2 separate regions of the Homo sapiens genome follow, and region 1 is linked to region 2. Evidence: promoter capture Hi-C in human tissues and cell types (Jung and others, 2019). All regions are on one chromosome and are shown on one strand. The core of a region is centred on a gene start or on the middle of the fragment in contact, and the rest is flanking DNA. Distances in the headings are between cores, read along the strand shown.

Region 1 (6,809 bases), core at 3,736-6,235, 90 kb after region 2:
GTATAAACTCGTTAATTTTGGTTACTGCACTGAAGTTAGGCAAGCTTCTGCAGCTTTATTAAATGACCAATGCTGTCCCTCCTGAGTGTGAAATTAACTCACTTTTCCTTTTTTTTTTTTGGGGGGATGGAGTCTTGCTCTGTCACCCAGGCTGGAGTGCATGGTGCCATCTCAGTTCACTGCAAGCTCCGCCTTCCGGGTTCATGCCATTCTCCTGTCTCAGCCTCCCGAGTAGCTGGGACTACAGACGCCCGCCACTGCGCCCGGCTAATTTTTTGTATTTTTAGTAGAGATGGGGTTTCACTGTGTTAGCCAGGATGGTCTCAATCTCCTGACCTTGTGATCCGCCTGCCTCAACCTCCCAAAGTGCTGGGATTACAGGCGTGAGCCACCGCGCCTGGCAGATTAACTCACTTTTCATGGCAGGTTTGAGGGAGACAGAGAAAACTCTTCTCTCACCTGAAACCGTGGCTTTGAGAAAAATAAAGTAGAACGACCGTGGCTCTTGGGAGCACTATCTGAAGGACTTGGCAAAATGTTTCCTCTTAGTGGCACCTGTGATGCCAGGTCTATGAAAAGCCCAGGGAGCCCGGCTGGCACCACCTCTGTGGCGTCCTGTGGGCCTCTGGCCATGCTGTGTCGTGGGAGAAAGAGCCGCCACGCAGCTGTGTCTTGGAGGAGCCTCCCCGCTGCTGTCAGAGGTGCAGCGTGCACTTAAATAGCAAGAACCCAGGTGCAAAGCCTTGAGGCCTGGGGCTCGGTTTCTACCCCTGTGAGGTCCGGGGCTCGGTTTTTGCCCCGTCACACGTGACCACCAGCCGGGAGGTGGGAGGCTTAAAACAACAGAAATTTACTCTCTCAAAGCTCTGGAGGCCACAAATCTGAAACCAAGAGGTCTCAGGGCTGCCCTCCCTGCAGGGCTCAGGGAGGCCCCTTCCTGCCTCTCCAGCTCCTGGCTGGTGGCTTTCTCGCTGTCCGTTTTCATACAGCCCCTCCTCTGTGTCTCTGTCTCCTTCTCCTTATCAGGACATAAGCCGCAGCAGCCCAGAGCTGTGACCCTTCATCTTACCTTCATTACCTCTGCAAAGACCCTGGTTCCACATCCACAGGTCCTGGGGCTAGGGACACGGCTCAACCTAAAACAGCCTCTAAATGAGGGGGTTTCAGAGGAAGATTGCCCCAGCCCCTCCGTGCCGAGAAGGATTTGGACATGGAGGAGTACGGGAAGGGCATTCCCGCCACTTGGAACAGCCCACAGCTGGAGGCATGCGTCAGGAGGAGCAGGGCCCTGTGGGCCCAGTGGGTGTGGAAGGTCATGTGTGGGGCAGTGTGTCTTCCAGAGGGCTCAGGAGTGTGGGGCTGGGAGCCACAGAGCCTGTGGCAGGCAGGCGTGACCAGGGACAAGTGTGTTGCCGGGGAAGACAGACCCGGAGGATCAGCGAGGCCAGGCTTCCCAGCGGTGGAGCCCCTGGACAAGGTTGTGTCCCTGTGGGAGGCAGAGGGCTTTTTCAGCCTTCATTTCAGGAACAATGACATGAAGCCCTGAGAAGGAGGAGCTCAGCCAGGAGCGGAAGGAGCTGGGCTTGAGCCCGGGGTTCAGTTCTACCAAACCCAGTCCAGAGCTGGCACCTGTCGGCAGCCAATGAGCACATTAAAAAATGTGATGAGGCTGGGCAATGGCTCACACCTGTAAACACAGCACTTTGGGAGGCTGAGGTGGGAGTATTGCCTGAAGCCAGTCCAAGACCAGCCTGGGCACACAGTGAGGCCCCCATCTCTGCAAAAAATATAAATAAAAAAAATCAGGCCTGGTGTGGTGGCTCATGCCTATAATCCCAGCAATTTGGGAGGCTAAGGCAGGTGGATTGCTTGAGGTTAGAAGTCCAAGACCAGCCTGACCAACATAGTGAAAACACATCTCTACTAAAACAAAAACAAAAACAAAAATTACCCACGTATGGTGGTGCACGCCTGTAATCCCAGCTACTCAGGAGGCTGAGGCAGGAGAATCGCTTGAACCCAGGAGGCGGAAGTTGCAGTTAGCCGAGATTGCACCACTGCACTCCAGCCTGGGCGACAGAGCAATTAGCCGGGTGTGGTGGTGCACACCTGTAGTCCCAAGTACTCGGGAGGCTGAGGCGGGAGGATGACTTGGGCCCAGGAATTTGAGGTGGTAGTGAGCTGAGATCACACCACTGCACTCCACCCTCACTCCAGGGTGACAGGGTGAGGCCCTGTCTCAAAAAGTAAATAAATAAGTAAATGAAAAATAAAAATGTGACAAGACCAGGTGCTCATTGATGAGTGAATGGAAAAACGAAATGGGGTCCATCTGTGCCTGGAAAATTCTTCAGCCATAAAAAGGAGTGGAACGCTGACACAGGCTACATTGGGACGAACCTTGAGACCCTTCTGCAGAGTGAAAGATGCCGGTCACGAGAGGCTACATGCGTGTGCCTCTGTGTCTCCAGAATGCACACAACAGGCAAAGCCACAGCAGGGGTAAGGACTGGGGGTGTCTGGGCTGGGGAGGGGGAGAGGCAGGCGGCTGCTAATGGGGTGGGTTTTTTTTTGTTGTTGTTTTTTGTTTTTTGAGACGGAGTCTCGCTCTGTTGCCTAAGCTGGAGTGCAGTGGCGTGATCTCAGCTCACGGCAACCTCCACCTCCTGGGTCCAAGCAATTCTCCTGCCTCAGCCTCCCAAGTAGCTGGGATTATAGGCCCACACCACCACACCCAGCTAATTTTTGTATTTTTAGTAGAGACGGGGTTTCACCCTGTTGGCCAGGCTGGTCTTGAACTCCTGACCTCAGGTGATCCACCTGCCTCGGCCTCCCAAAGTGCTGGGGTTACAGGCCTGAGCCACCTCGCCTGGCCTGAATTCGCATTTTAAAAGAGTCTTGGCCAGGCACGGTGGCTCACGCCTGTAATCCCATCTACTTGGGAGGCTGAGGCATGAGAATTACTTGAACCTGGGAGGTGGAGATTGCAATGAGCCCAGATCACACCACTGCACTCCAACCTGGGCAACAGAGACTCTTAAATAAATACATAAAGTCTCATTTGCATAATTTCATGTAATGATGAGCAGAGCCCTCTGAAGGTCATTATCCGGGCAGCCTCTCATCTGAGCTGGGCTCGGAGCCTGGACTGTCCTCTCCCGGGAGCCCCTTAGGCTCCGTGTTTTCATGGGCCAAGGTTGCTGTCAGACTGCCTGAGTCCCCAGGGCTCTGAGTCCGGCAGATGGTGTCCACGCCCATTTCCTCTTCTTTCCGCCAGCCTCACTGTAGCCTGGCCTTGCTACCTGGCCACTTCCTCCGGGCCATGCCGCTCCGGAAAGGAGCCCAAGGGCAGCCTTCTGTGTGGGGGCCACTGCGCCATCCGTGGGCCATGTGGGCTGCTCCAGAGGGCAAGGTCCCCGGCCTCCCTGGGTCAATCAGAGCTGGCTGTGCTTTGTCTGTTTGGTGGTAGAGCTGCGCCGTGCTGGGGACGGGGGTGCACACAGGAGGAGGCTCCTTCGGTTGGAGCAGAGTTGGGGTTGGGGTGGGGGCCACCCTCTCCCCTGGCCTGGCGTGGAAGGAGAGAACAGGCATGATGTGTGTCTTCTGGAAGATGGCAATGGGCACGGAGCAGAAGAAGACCAAAGGCCCGCCTGCAGCTCCCGTGTTTTGGTAGGGGCATTGCGCGTGTTCAGGAAGTGTGAGGTTCCTGTCTTCTCTGACAGCAAGGGCTCGGATCAGGAGCCAGGGGTAGGAGCGCAGACCTCAGGGGGAGATAACCAACCTTCACTCCCTCTGTGTTCTCTGGGCCTGTTCCCAGGTCAGAGGGCTGTGCTGGGGAGGTACCACACAGTTGGACTCAGCTACAGCTAAGTTTTGATTGAAGGCTCCTCCCAGGCACTCACCCTCTTAACCCTCTCAAGTGAGCCCCCGCTGGGTGCCTGAGCTGCAGGAACCTGCAAAACACCTTTGTCCCTCCCAGGCTTCAGACTGACTTCAGAGTTTCTTTTCTTTTTTTCTTTTTTTTTTGAGATGGAGTTTCGCTCTGTCCCCAGGCTGGAGTGCAGTGGCGTGATCTCGGTTCACTGCAACCTCTGCCTCCCAGGTTTAAGTGATTCTTCTGCCTCAGCTTCCCGTGTAGCTGGTATTATGGGTGCGCATCACCACACCCGGCTAATTTTTGTATTTTTAGTAGAGACAGGGCTTCACCATGTTGGCCAGCATGGTCTTGATCTCTTGACCTTGTGATCCACCTGCCTCGGCCTCCCAAAGTGTTGGGATTACAGGCATGAACCACCATGCCCGGCCTCTTGTTGCTATTTAGAGGAGAACAAATGACTTACAATCTAACGCAGATCAGAAGTGACTGCCAGTGTTTCTGACTGAGACTTAGATAACGAGTCACTCTGATGTTTGCACAGCAGTTTGAAGCAACACGATGTCTCCTTTTGTGAAATTAACTCTGAAATGGCCCCACGTTTAAAGAAGTGACTTTATTCTGCTTTGATATTTCAGCTCATTTTGAAACCCAAGCTTGGTCTCCTCTCTTTGCCGTGTGAATTGTCTATGGATTCCGGCTGAAAGCGGCGGACCCTGGCTGGTGGGTGCAGGTGCAGTACAGTTAGAGCTGGAGGCAGTCCTGCCTCGTGCAGCCACTGCCGGCGCTCGGGATGTAACCACTTGGACCCTCTGTTTCGTCTTCAGTAAAACAAAGCCAGCACCAAAAGGGTTAAGATTGGAACAGACTTTCCTCAACTCTGATCCATGGACCTGTGCGTTGGTGCCAATGTCTTCATCGATGTACAGTGAAACGAGGAAAAGGAGCGCCAAGTGGAATAAATCATTCATGTGGGCCGGGCGCGGTGGCTCACGCCTGTAATCCCAGCACTTCGGGAGGCCAAGGCAGGTGGATCGCTTGAGCCCAGGAGTTTGAGAGCAGCTTGGGCAACATAGGGAGAACTCGTCTCTATTAAAAAAAATAATACTTTCGTGTAAAAGGCTTTTTGTGCAGAGATTGTGCTATCCTACTGTATTTGGTGCTAAAAGGTGCTTTTATGAGATATTGAGACTATTGAGCAATAGTTAAAAAAATTAATGTCAGTATCTGGAAAAAACATAAGGTTAGAGTCCTATGCTAACCCGGAAGTGATTGTCGACAGTTTTCTGGTTTGTGATTTTTCCAAAGTCTGGGGACCCCTGTTCGGGGTGGCGCTGCCTCACTGGTGCCTTCAGGTGAACCCTGGCTGGGGGAAGAGTCCCCGGGAGGGAGCTGGGCCCAGCTATTCAGCCCAGCCAGAGCAGAGAAGGCAGTCGGTCAACATGCAGGCCCTGCCCCGGGCTTTGGTGCCAGATAAAGGGATGTCCCAGGAGTTCCTCTGAGACCCTGGAGCCTGTGGCTGGTGCGTGTGGGAGGAAGGGAGGTGTGAGCCAGGCGCCCAGACCACAGGGCTGGTGGGTGGGGCAGGAAGAGGGCCAGTGCCCCACATGAACCTGCCAGGGCTGTGGGCCTGGAAGCCCCTTCCCCCGGGAGGGTGACAGGGTCATTGACGGTGACCACCTGGCTGGTGCTGACGTGGAGGGTGGGGATTGGAGCCACTGGGGTGGGACCCTCTGGCCATCCACTGGGAACCCCACCTTACAGGGGAAAGGGCAGTGGCGGTCAGGCTGCTGTCAATCCCTACTGTAGTGTGTGGGTGGGGGCTCCGTGCCCTGGAGACCCCCGATCATCTTTCTGGCCACAGGATGTCCTGCCTGTTCTATGCCTCCTGGGTGTGGGGGGAACCAAGGGTCCAGGAGGGGAACTGTGCAGTCTCATGGATCAAAAGGGCCAAGGTGGGGTGAGGCCAGGGTGTCTGCAGCCCAAGCACATACCCATGAGTTTCACACTTGGATGGTTGTCACCCTCTGTTCCCTCACCTTCCCCACCCTCTGTCCCCTCACCTTCCCCACCCTCTGTCCCGTCGCCTTCCCCACCCTCTGTCCCGTCGCCTTCCCCACCCTCTGTCCCCTCGCCTTCCCCACCCTCTGTCCCCTCGCCTTCCCCACCCTCTGTCCCCTCGCCTTCCCCACCCTCTGTCCCCTCGCCTTCCCCACCCTCTGTCCCCTCGCCTTCCCCACCCTCTGTCCCCTCGCCTTCCCCACCCTCTGTCCCCTCGCCTTCCCCACCCTCTGTCCGGTCACCTTCCCCACCCTCTGTCCCCTCGCCTTCCCCACCCTCTGTCCCGTCACCTTCCCCACCCTCTGTCCAGTCACCTTCCCCACCCTCTGTCCCCGCACCTTCCCCACCCTCTGTCTCCTCACCTTCCCCACCCTCTGTCCCCGCACCTTCCCCACCCTCTGTCCCCGCACCTTCCCCACCCTCTGTCCGGTCACCTTCCCCACCCTCTGTCCCCTCGCCTTCCCCACCCTCTGTCCCCTCGCCTTCCCCACCCTCTGTCCCCTCGCCTTCCCCACCCTCTCCTCGCCTTCCCCACCCTCTGTCCCCTCGCCTTCCCCACCCTCTGTCCCCTCGCCTTCCCCACCCTCTGTCCCCTCGCCTTCCCCACCCTCTGTCCCCTCGCCTTCCCCACCCTCTGTCCCCTCGCCTTCCCCACCCTCTGTCCCCTCGCCTTCCCCACCCTCTGTCCCCTCGCCTTCCCCACCCTCTGTCCCCTCGCCTTCCCCACCCTCTGTCCCCTCGCCTTCCCCACCCTCTGTCCCCTCACCTTCTCCACCCTCTGTCCCCTCACCTTCTCCACCCTCTGTCCCCTCACCTTCCCCACCCTCTGTCCCCTCACCTTCTCCACCCTCTGTCCCCTCACCTTCCCCACCCT
Region 2 (6,416 bases), core at 2,587-5,086:
CTGGCCCAAATCCAGACCCCAGCTACATGGGCCATCCCCACCCAGGCCACCTGCCGCCTCCCGCTCTGCCCTCATCCCCTGAAACCATCCTGATGCTGCCATTGAAACCCAAAGCCTCACCCCAGTGCCTCCGGCTCAGAATCCGCAGGCTCAGAACCCACAGGCTCAGCTACCTCCAGTGACAGCCACAAGCTTCTGATGGCCCCAGGGCAGACATGATCTGCACCCCCAGCGCCCTGCCCTGCCCCTGCGGTCCCCCTCTCACCTGGCATCAGCCACGCAGGCCACTCTCTGACCCTTGGACACACGCAGCATGTGTCTTCTCAGGGCCTTTGCATGGGCTCTTCCTGCTGCCTGGAGCTGTTCCCTGCATGGCTGCCTGGCTCCTTCCTCCTCCCCTTCAGGTCTTCGAGGCCTCCCTGACCCTCTGCTTAGAACTGCAGCCCCTTGGCCGGGCGCGGTGGCTCACGCCTGTAATCCCAGCACTTTGGGAGGCCGAGGCGGGCAGATCATGAGGTCAGGAGATCGAGACCATCCTGGCTAACACGGTGAAACCCCGTCTCTACTAAAAATACAAAAAATTAGCCGGGCGTGGTGGCGGGCGCCTGTAGTCCCAGCTACTCAGGAGGCTGAGGCAGGAGAATGGTGTGAACCCGGGAGGCGGAGCTTGCAGTGAGCCGAGATCGCACCATTGCACTCCAGCCTGGGCCAGAGCGAGACTCCTCAAAAAAAAAAAAAAGAACTGCAGCCCCTCCCCCAGAGCCTCTGTCCTGGACTCACTCACAGACTACACACCACTTGTTTCATTAGTCACCGTGGAGGCAGGAAGGGTTTTCACCATTTTGTTCTCGGCCTGTTCCCAGTGCCAGGTGCTTAGTAGAAACTCATATGGCTGGGTGCGGTGGCTCACGCCTGTAATCCCAGCACTCTGGGAGGCCGAGGTGGGAGGATCACTTGAGCTCAGGAGTTCGAGACCAACCTGGCCAACATGGCGAAACCCCGCCTCCACTAAAAATACAAATATGAGTTGGGTGTGGTGGTGCACGCCTGTACTGGGAAGCTGAGCTGGGAGGATCGCTTGAACTCAGAAGGTGGGGGTGGCAGTGAGCTGAAGTCATACCACACTGCACTCCAGCCTGGGCAACAGAGCGAGACCCTTTTTCAAGAAAGAAAAGAAACTCAATAAATGTGTTGAATGAAAATTCCATCTCCTGGACAAGGGCCACCACCTCCAGGAAGTCTTCCCTGAGGCCTCTTGCTTTGGGAGTCTGAGTGGAGTCCTTGTTCTTCTGTGCAGCACCCCCACCCCCATCTCCAGGCACCTGGACGCAGTAGGTGGGTGAGCCAGGGGGCCAGGCAGGGGAGGGGCTAACAACTGCCCAGCAGCCCCATGGCAATGTCAGCCCTTGGGGCCGGGGGCCTAGAGACTGAGACCCTGAGACTGTCACAGGCCTGGGCCCCCTTTCCACGACTGGGGCTGCTCCCCCCGGGGCCCCTTAACTAAAATCTCCAACAGAGCCTGGGTCCCGAAGCGTGGCTAGTTCACCATCAGGGAGGGCGCTTGGCCTTGGATGTTGATCCGAACCACGAAGGCTGGGGGCCCTGCCTTGAGCCGACAGCCCTGCAGTTCATCCTCAGAGACTTGCCTTGGGGGCCGAGAGGGTGCCCCTAGGCGCTCACATCATTACAAAGCATAGGGCTCAAGGCACTGCTTGAGGAAGGAGGCTGGTTCCTGTTCCCAGGGGTGTCCTCAGGGGAGACACTGTGTGGGCAGAGCAGGGACACCTGTGACCCCCCCGTGCTACAGCTCAGTCCCACCTGCATGCACTGCTCGCGGCTGCGTAGACCTTTCTGGAAGGACACCCCAGAATTGGGTCCATGGCTGGCCTGGACCAGGGCTGAACGGGAGAATGTCGCATTGAATGTTGGCCTCTGGGGATGTGTTCATCAGTTTAATAATACACGTACACTTAAATAATTGTTTAAGAAACAGGGGTACTTCCAAGGAGGTTGGGAAGAGGCAGCCTGCGGGGGCCTGAGGCCAGTGATAGGGTAAGGGAAGCCGGGAGCAGGACAGGGAGCCAAGGTACAGGCAGCCGTGTGACACCTTTTCTGCAGCTTTAAGGGCTGGAAGAGGTGCTGAGCTCCTTCTACCCCCAACTACTGAGGCTGGAGATGAGGAGAACAGTGGGGGGCTGTCCTCCAGACACGGGGAATGCCCAGACCCCAAGGGTAGTGTTGGGGGAGGCATATAAATAACAATAAATACACATAAATAGGGGGTGCCCTCTGGGGAGCACACGTGTCCAGTCTAGGGGCCCCACGGCCTCGGCGGTCACACTGAACGGGGCAGCACGCAGGTGCAGCCGACGGGGACGTGGATGAACTCGGTGTGGAAGGCAAAGGCCCCAGGTGTGGGGAGCCCCGAGCCGTCGCGGGAGCAGGGCCGGCGGCGCAGCACCAGCAGGCTCTGGAGCAGCCGCACGGAGTTGAGCGCAGCTGTCTCGCGGCCCGTCCGTGCATCGATACAGCCTCTGCACAGGCACTCGGCGAAGGCCAGCTTCTGTGGATAGCGGTCCTCATCCGTGTCCACACTGCGGGACGGGGTGCACAGTGAGTCTCTGGCCCTACCCTGTCCTCCTGGAGGCCCCTCTCCCCTCAGGGCCCCTCTCCGTGTACTCAGGATAGGACCTGAGGCAGCGAGGGCTGAGCCACACGGGCTTGGGGTGCAGTCGGGCTCACATGTGGTGGTAATCCACGTCTCCCCAGGGCCCTCCAAGAGCACAGAGCAGGGTCCGGAGGCCTCTAGGAGCCTCCCTTCCACTTCATCACCCAGCCCCACTTCTGCAGGAGCTCAGGTGACGGGCCCAGAATTTCCCCAGGGGACCCTGGCCACCTAGGACAGTGGGAGGCAGGGCACGGCCAGCCGCAAGCAGCAGCTCAGCCGTCCAGGTCAGGAGGGCCGGAGGGAGGGAGCTCAGGTGGCCACGCCCACTTGACAGGTGAGAACCACCAAGGCCCAGAGAGCTCTCCGGGCAGTCAGGGCCCCGCCAGGGGAGGGGCAGCCCCACGCCACAGCGGAATCCCCAGGTCCTCACCGGTATCTCCAGGGTGAGATGGAGCGCTGGTGGGTGTCTGCCTCCAACACCTCCTCCGGCCGCAGCACCGGGCACTGGGTCGTAGCTGAGGGCCTCTCGTGCCTCCCCCTGTGGCTTGCTGCCTCCAGGCTGGACACCAGGGCTACAGGCAAAGCCTGCCCCCACTTGGCACCTCGAGCCAGCAGGTGTGGGGGGGCCTGGCCGAGGGGCAGTTCCTCAGCCGAGTAGCAGTGTGGGGTACCGTGACTGTGGGGGTGCCCCCTGAGGGAGGGGTCATGGTGGGCCAGGCATGTGTGCAGCCAGGTCAGAAACAGGAGGCCGGGGAGGAGCTGGTGAAACAGGCAGGTGGGTGGTTAGGAGGTGCCCAGGGCAGGGGGCACCTCACTTCCACCTCAGCTTTCCTTGTTCCCAGCGGAAAGATGGAGTACAGCCCTCCCTCTATAGATGGGGAAACTGAAGCCCAGAGAGGCTAGCCCTTCAGCCCAAGACACCCAGCATGCCAGCGCTCCGAGGATCTGCAGCTGCCTCCCCTACCCCCAGACTGAGGGGTTTCCCAGACCCCATCCCAACACCCTCCTCCCAGGCTCAGAGAACCCCAGCCCTTCCATGCCAGGCTGCACATCCAAGCAGCATCCATCCGAGCGGCATGTGGAGAGGCTCACCGTCATGGTGGCGGCAGCGGGGCAGGCTGGGCTTGGAGCGGCCTGCACACCTGGCGGCAATCCCACAGGTGCACCTGGCCATGCACCTGGCAGCAGCCGCTCTTATACCTGAGGCCACACCTGGGGGAAATTCCGGCACCACTTCCTCCTCGGGAAGTGCCCAGCTGGGGCGCTTCTTCCTTCTCTGGTCCCCGCAGCCCCCGCCTGCTGTGCATCAGGACACAGACATGCAAGGAGGCCCCGGGAGGCGCTGTCCTGTTACCCCCCTCCCCCGAGAGAGACTCCGCCCAACCTGAGCACCTACACAGGGTGCTGCCTTGTCTGACATTCTCAAACTTTTTTTTTTTTTTTGAGACAGGGTCTTGCTGTCACCCGAGCTGGAGGGAAATGGTGCTGTCCCAGCTCACTGCAACCTCCACATCCCAGGTTCAAGCGATTCTCCTGCCTCAGGCTTCCGAGTAGCTGGGATTACAGGCACCCCCCACCATGCCTGGCTAATTTTTGTATTTTTAGTACAGACAGGGTTTTGCCATATCGGCCAGGCTGGTCTGAGGCTCCTGACCTCAAGTGATCTGCTCGCCTTGGCCTCCCAAAGTGCTGGGATTACAGGAGTGAGCCACTGCGCCCAGCCTTGAACCTCCTATAAGAGGGTTTCTGCTTGCGTATCCGTCAGCACCTTGCTGATTCAACTTGTAGGTTTTCATCTGGACCTGATGGTGGCGGGGCGCTTTTGCACCCTATACAGTTCTTCTCCGTCTGCTGCTGGTGGGTGCCAAGGGTGGTTCAGTGTTTTAGCTGAGATGGTCAAGATCAGGTGAGGCTCACGTGCCCCCTTCACCCAGGTGGGAGAGGTCCCGGAGATGGGGGAGGCAGGCACGTCTTCAGGTCTCTGTTGGGTTTCTGTGTTGTTTTTTTTTTTGTTGTTTTTTTGAGGCGGAGTCTGACTCTGTCGCCCAGGCGGGGAGTACAGTGGTGCGATCTCGGCTCACTACAAGCTCAGCTTCCTGGGTTCACGCCATTCTCCTGCCTCAGCCTGCCGGGTAGCTGGGACTACAGGCGCCCGCCACCACACCTGGCTAATTTTTTTGTATTTTTAGTAGAGACGGGGTTTCACCATGTTAGCCAGGATGGTCTCGATCTCCTGACCTCGTGATCTGCCCACCTCGGCCTCGCAAAGTGCTGGGATCACAGGCATGAGTCACTGCACCCGGCCTGGGCTTCTGTGGTTTTATTGAGAAAAAAGTTCAAGCTAAAAAGTCTGAGTTGGAGGTGTGAGGAGTGAGGTGTGAGGTGTGAATGAGGCATGAGGCGTGAGGCGTGAGGTGTGAGGTGTGACCAGCACACACAGGAAGCTTTATGTAAGCGGGGCCGGGAGCTGCCTTTGGCCTCCTTGATCGGTGAGGCTGGCTGGGGGTGGGGGCGCTGGAGGTGCCTTTGTTTCCCCGGAAAGGGACAGCTGCAGCCAGAACTTGGGAAGGTTTGAATGCCGGGGGTTTGACGTCATCCTGAGGAGGGTTGTCCTGGAGTCCCCAGGGCCCCTGGCCACATCAGAGGTGGGGGAATCTGTCCGCCCTGGTCCCCTCAGCTTCGGGGTGAGGGCGGGAGGGAGGGTGCTTGTGTGCCCCCAGCCTTTCCTCCCCTGCCGCGGTGCAGATGTGTTCCACGGAGGTGTCCTCTAAGCTGAAAACCTCAGTCTCTCTGAACACAAAAGCTCCCAAGTCGGGTGGGGCTGAGGCAGCACTGGGACCCCTGGGCCCTCCAGCACCTCCTCTTGGCCGCTGTGTGGCTCTCAGCTTGTCTGCTGTGGGCCTCTGGGGGTGAAGGAGGCTGTGCCCCAGGGTTAACAGTCTGGGAGGAATCAAAGACAGATTGCTGGAGTCCCCAGGGCTGCTCCTCCCGACAGTGCCCCTGCCCACCCACCCTCTGCTTGCATACCTCCTGTGACGGGGAGCTCACTATCCGTGCTGGTTTCCTAGGGCTGTGCTAACCATGCACCACAAACTGGGGGGTGTGAAATGGGAGAAGTTTATTCCACGAGGCCGTGGAGCTGGGCGTGTTCAGGGCTGGGTCCTCCTGGAGGCTCTTCCAGCCCTCAGTTTCCCGGGCTGGCGGCTCCTCCCGTGGCCTCTCTGCTGCACCCGCCTTTTCCTCTTCTGTGGTTTATAAGGACACTGGTTGTTGGATGTAGGGCCCAGTCTAAAAGATAATCCCTCCCCCCTTCTCAGGACGTGGGACCTGCCTTAACCCAGGATGAGCCATCTCAAGATCCTTTCCCTAATTACATCAAAGCAAAAGCCCCTTTTCCAAATGAGCGCGCGTTCACAGGTTGGGTTAGGGTGTGGGTAGAGCCTTTTCCAGGACACAGCAGAACCCACTGCATCCCCAGCAGGACAGGTGCTCCTGTGTGGGTTGGCCCTGCCTTAGGCTGGGCTGATACAGGCCTCTCTGCACGGGCGCTTGGCTGTCTCAGAAAAATTCCAGCCCCTCACGGCCCTCCCCAAAAGGCGGCCTGAGCGCCTTGAGGGCCACGTCTGTGGCAGCCCCATCTGTGTACCCAGGGTTGAGAGTAGTGCAGGGCATACAGGAGGGTGCTCTGTAAATAACACAGAATGGAAAAAGGAGGGAGGAGAGCGGCTCTCCCCATGGGTACAGTGGG

Evidence for each region. The method cuts DNA at HindIII sites, captures the fragments that hold promoters and counts their contacts. A contact is called where the count stands out against the background at its distance.
Region 1: a fragment that was not itself captured here is called in contact with the fragment with the promoter of IL17C in region 2 in 2 of the 25 tissues and cell types used here (mesendoderm cells and thymus).

The regions. Positions count from the first base shown.
Region 1 is chr16:88,546,975-88,553,783 of GRCh38, reverse strand. No RefSeq gene overlaps it. Among named protein-coding and RNA genes, the nearest start is that of ZC3H18-DT, 12 kb to the left of the region's middle. The HindIII fragment of the contact is 5,396 bases long and covers 2,288-6,809 here.
Region 2 is chr16:88,635,992-88,642,407 of GRCh38, reverse strand. It overlaps IL17C (interleukin 17C), which reads right to left and starts at 3,836. Exons shown (of 3, transcript NM_013278.4): 1 at 3,761-3,836; 2 at 3,099-3,427; 3 at 1,940-2,594. The coding sequence starts at 3,766. The coding sequence ends at 2,336. LOC124903755 (a long non-coding RNA gene) reads right to left here. Exons shown (of 2, transcript XR_007065181.1): 1 at 5,696-6,416; 2 at 4,974-5,608. RefSeq lists an enhancer at 964-1,791. The HindIII fragment of the contact is 16,303 bases long and covers 1-6,416 here.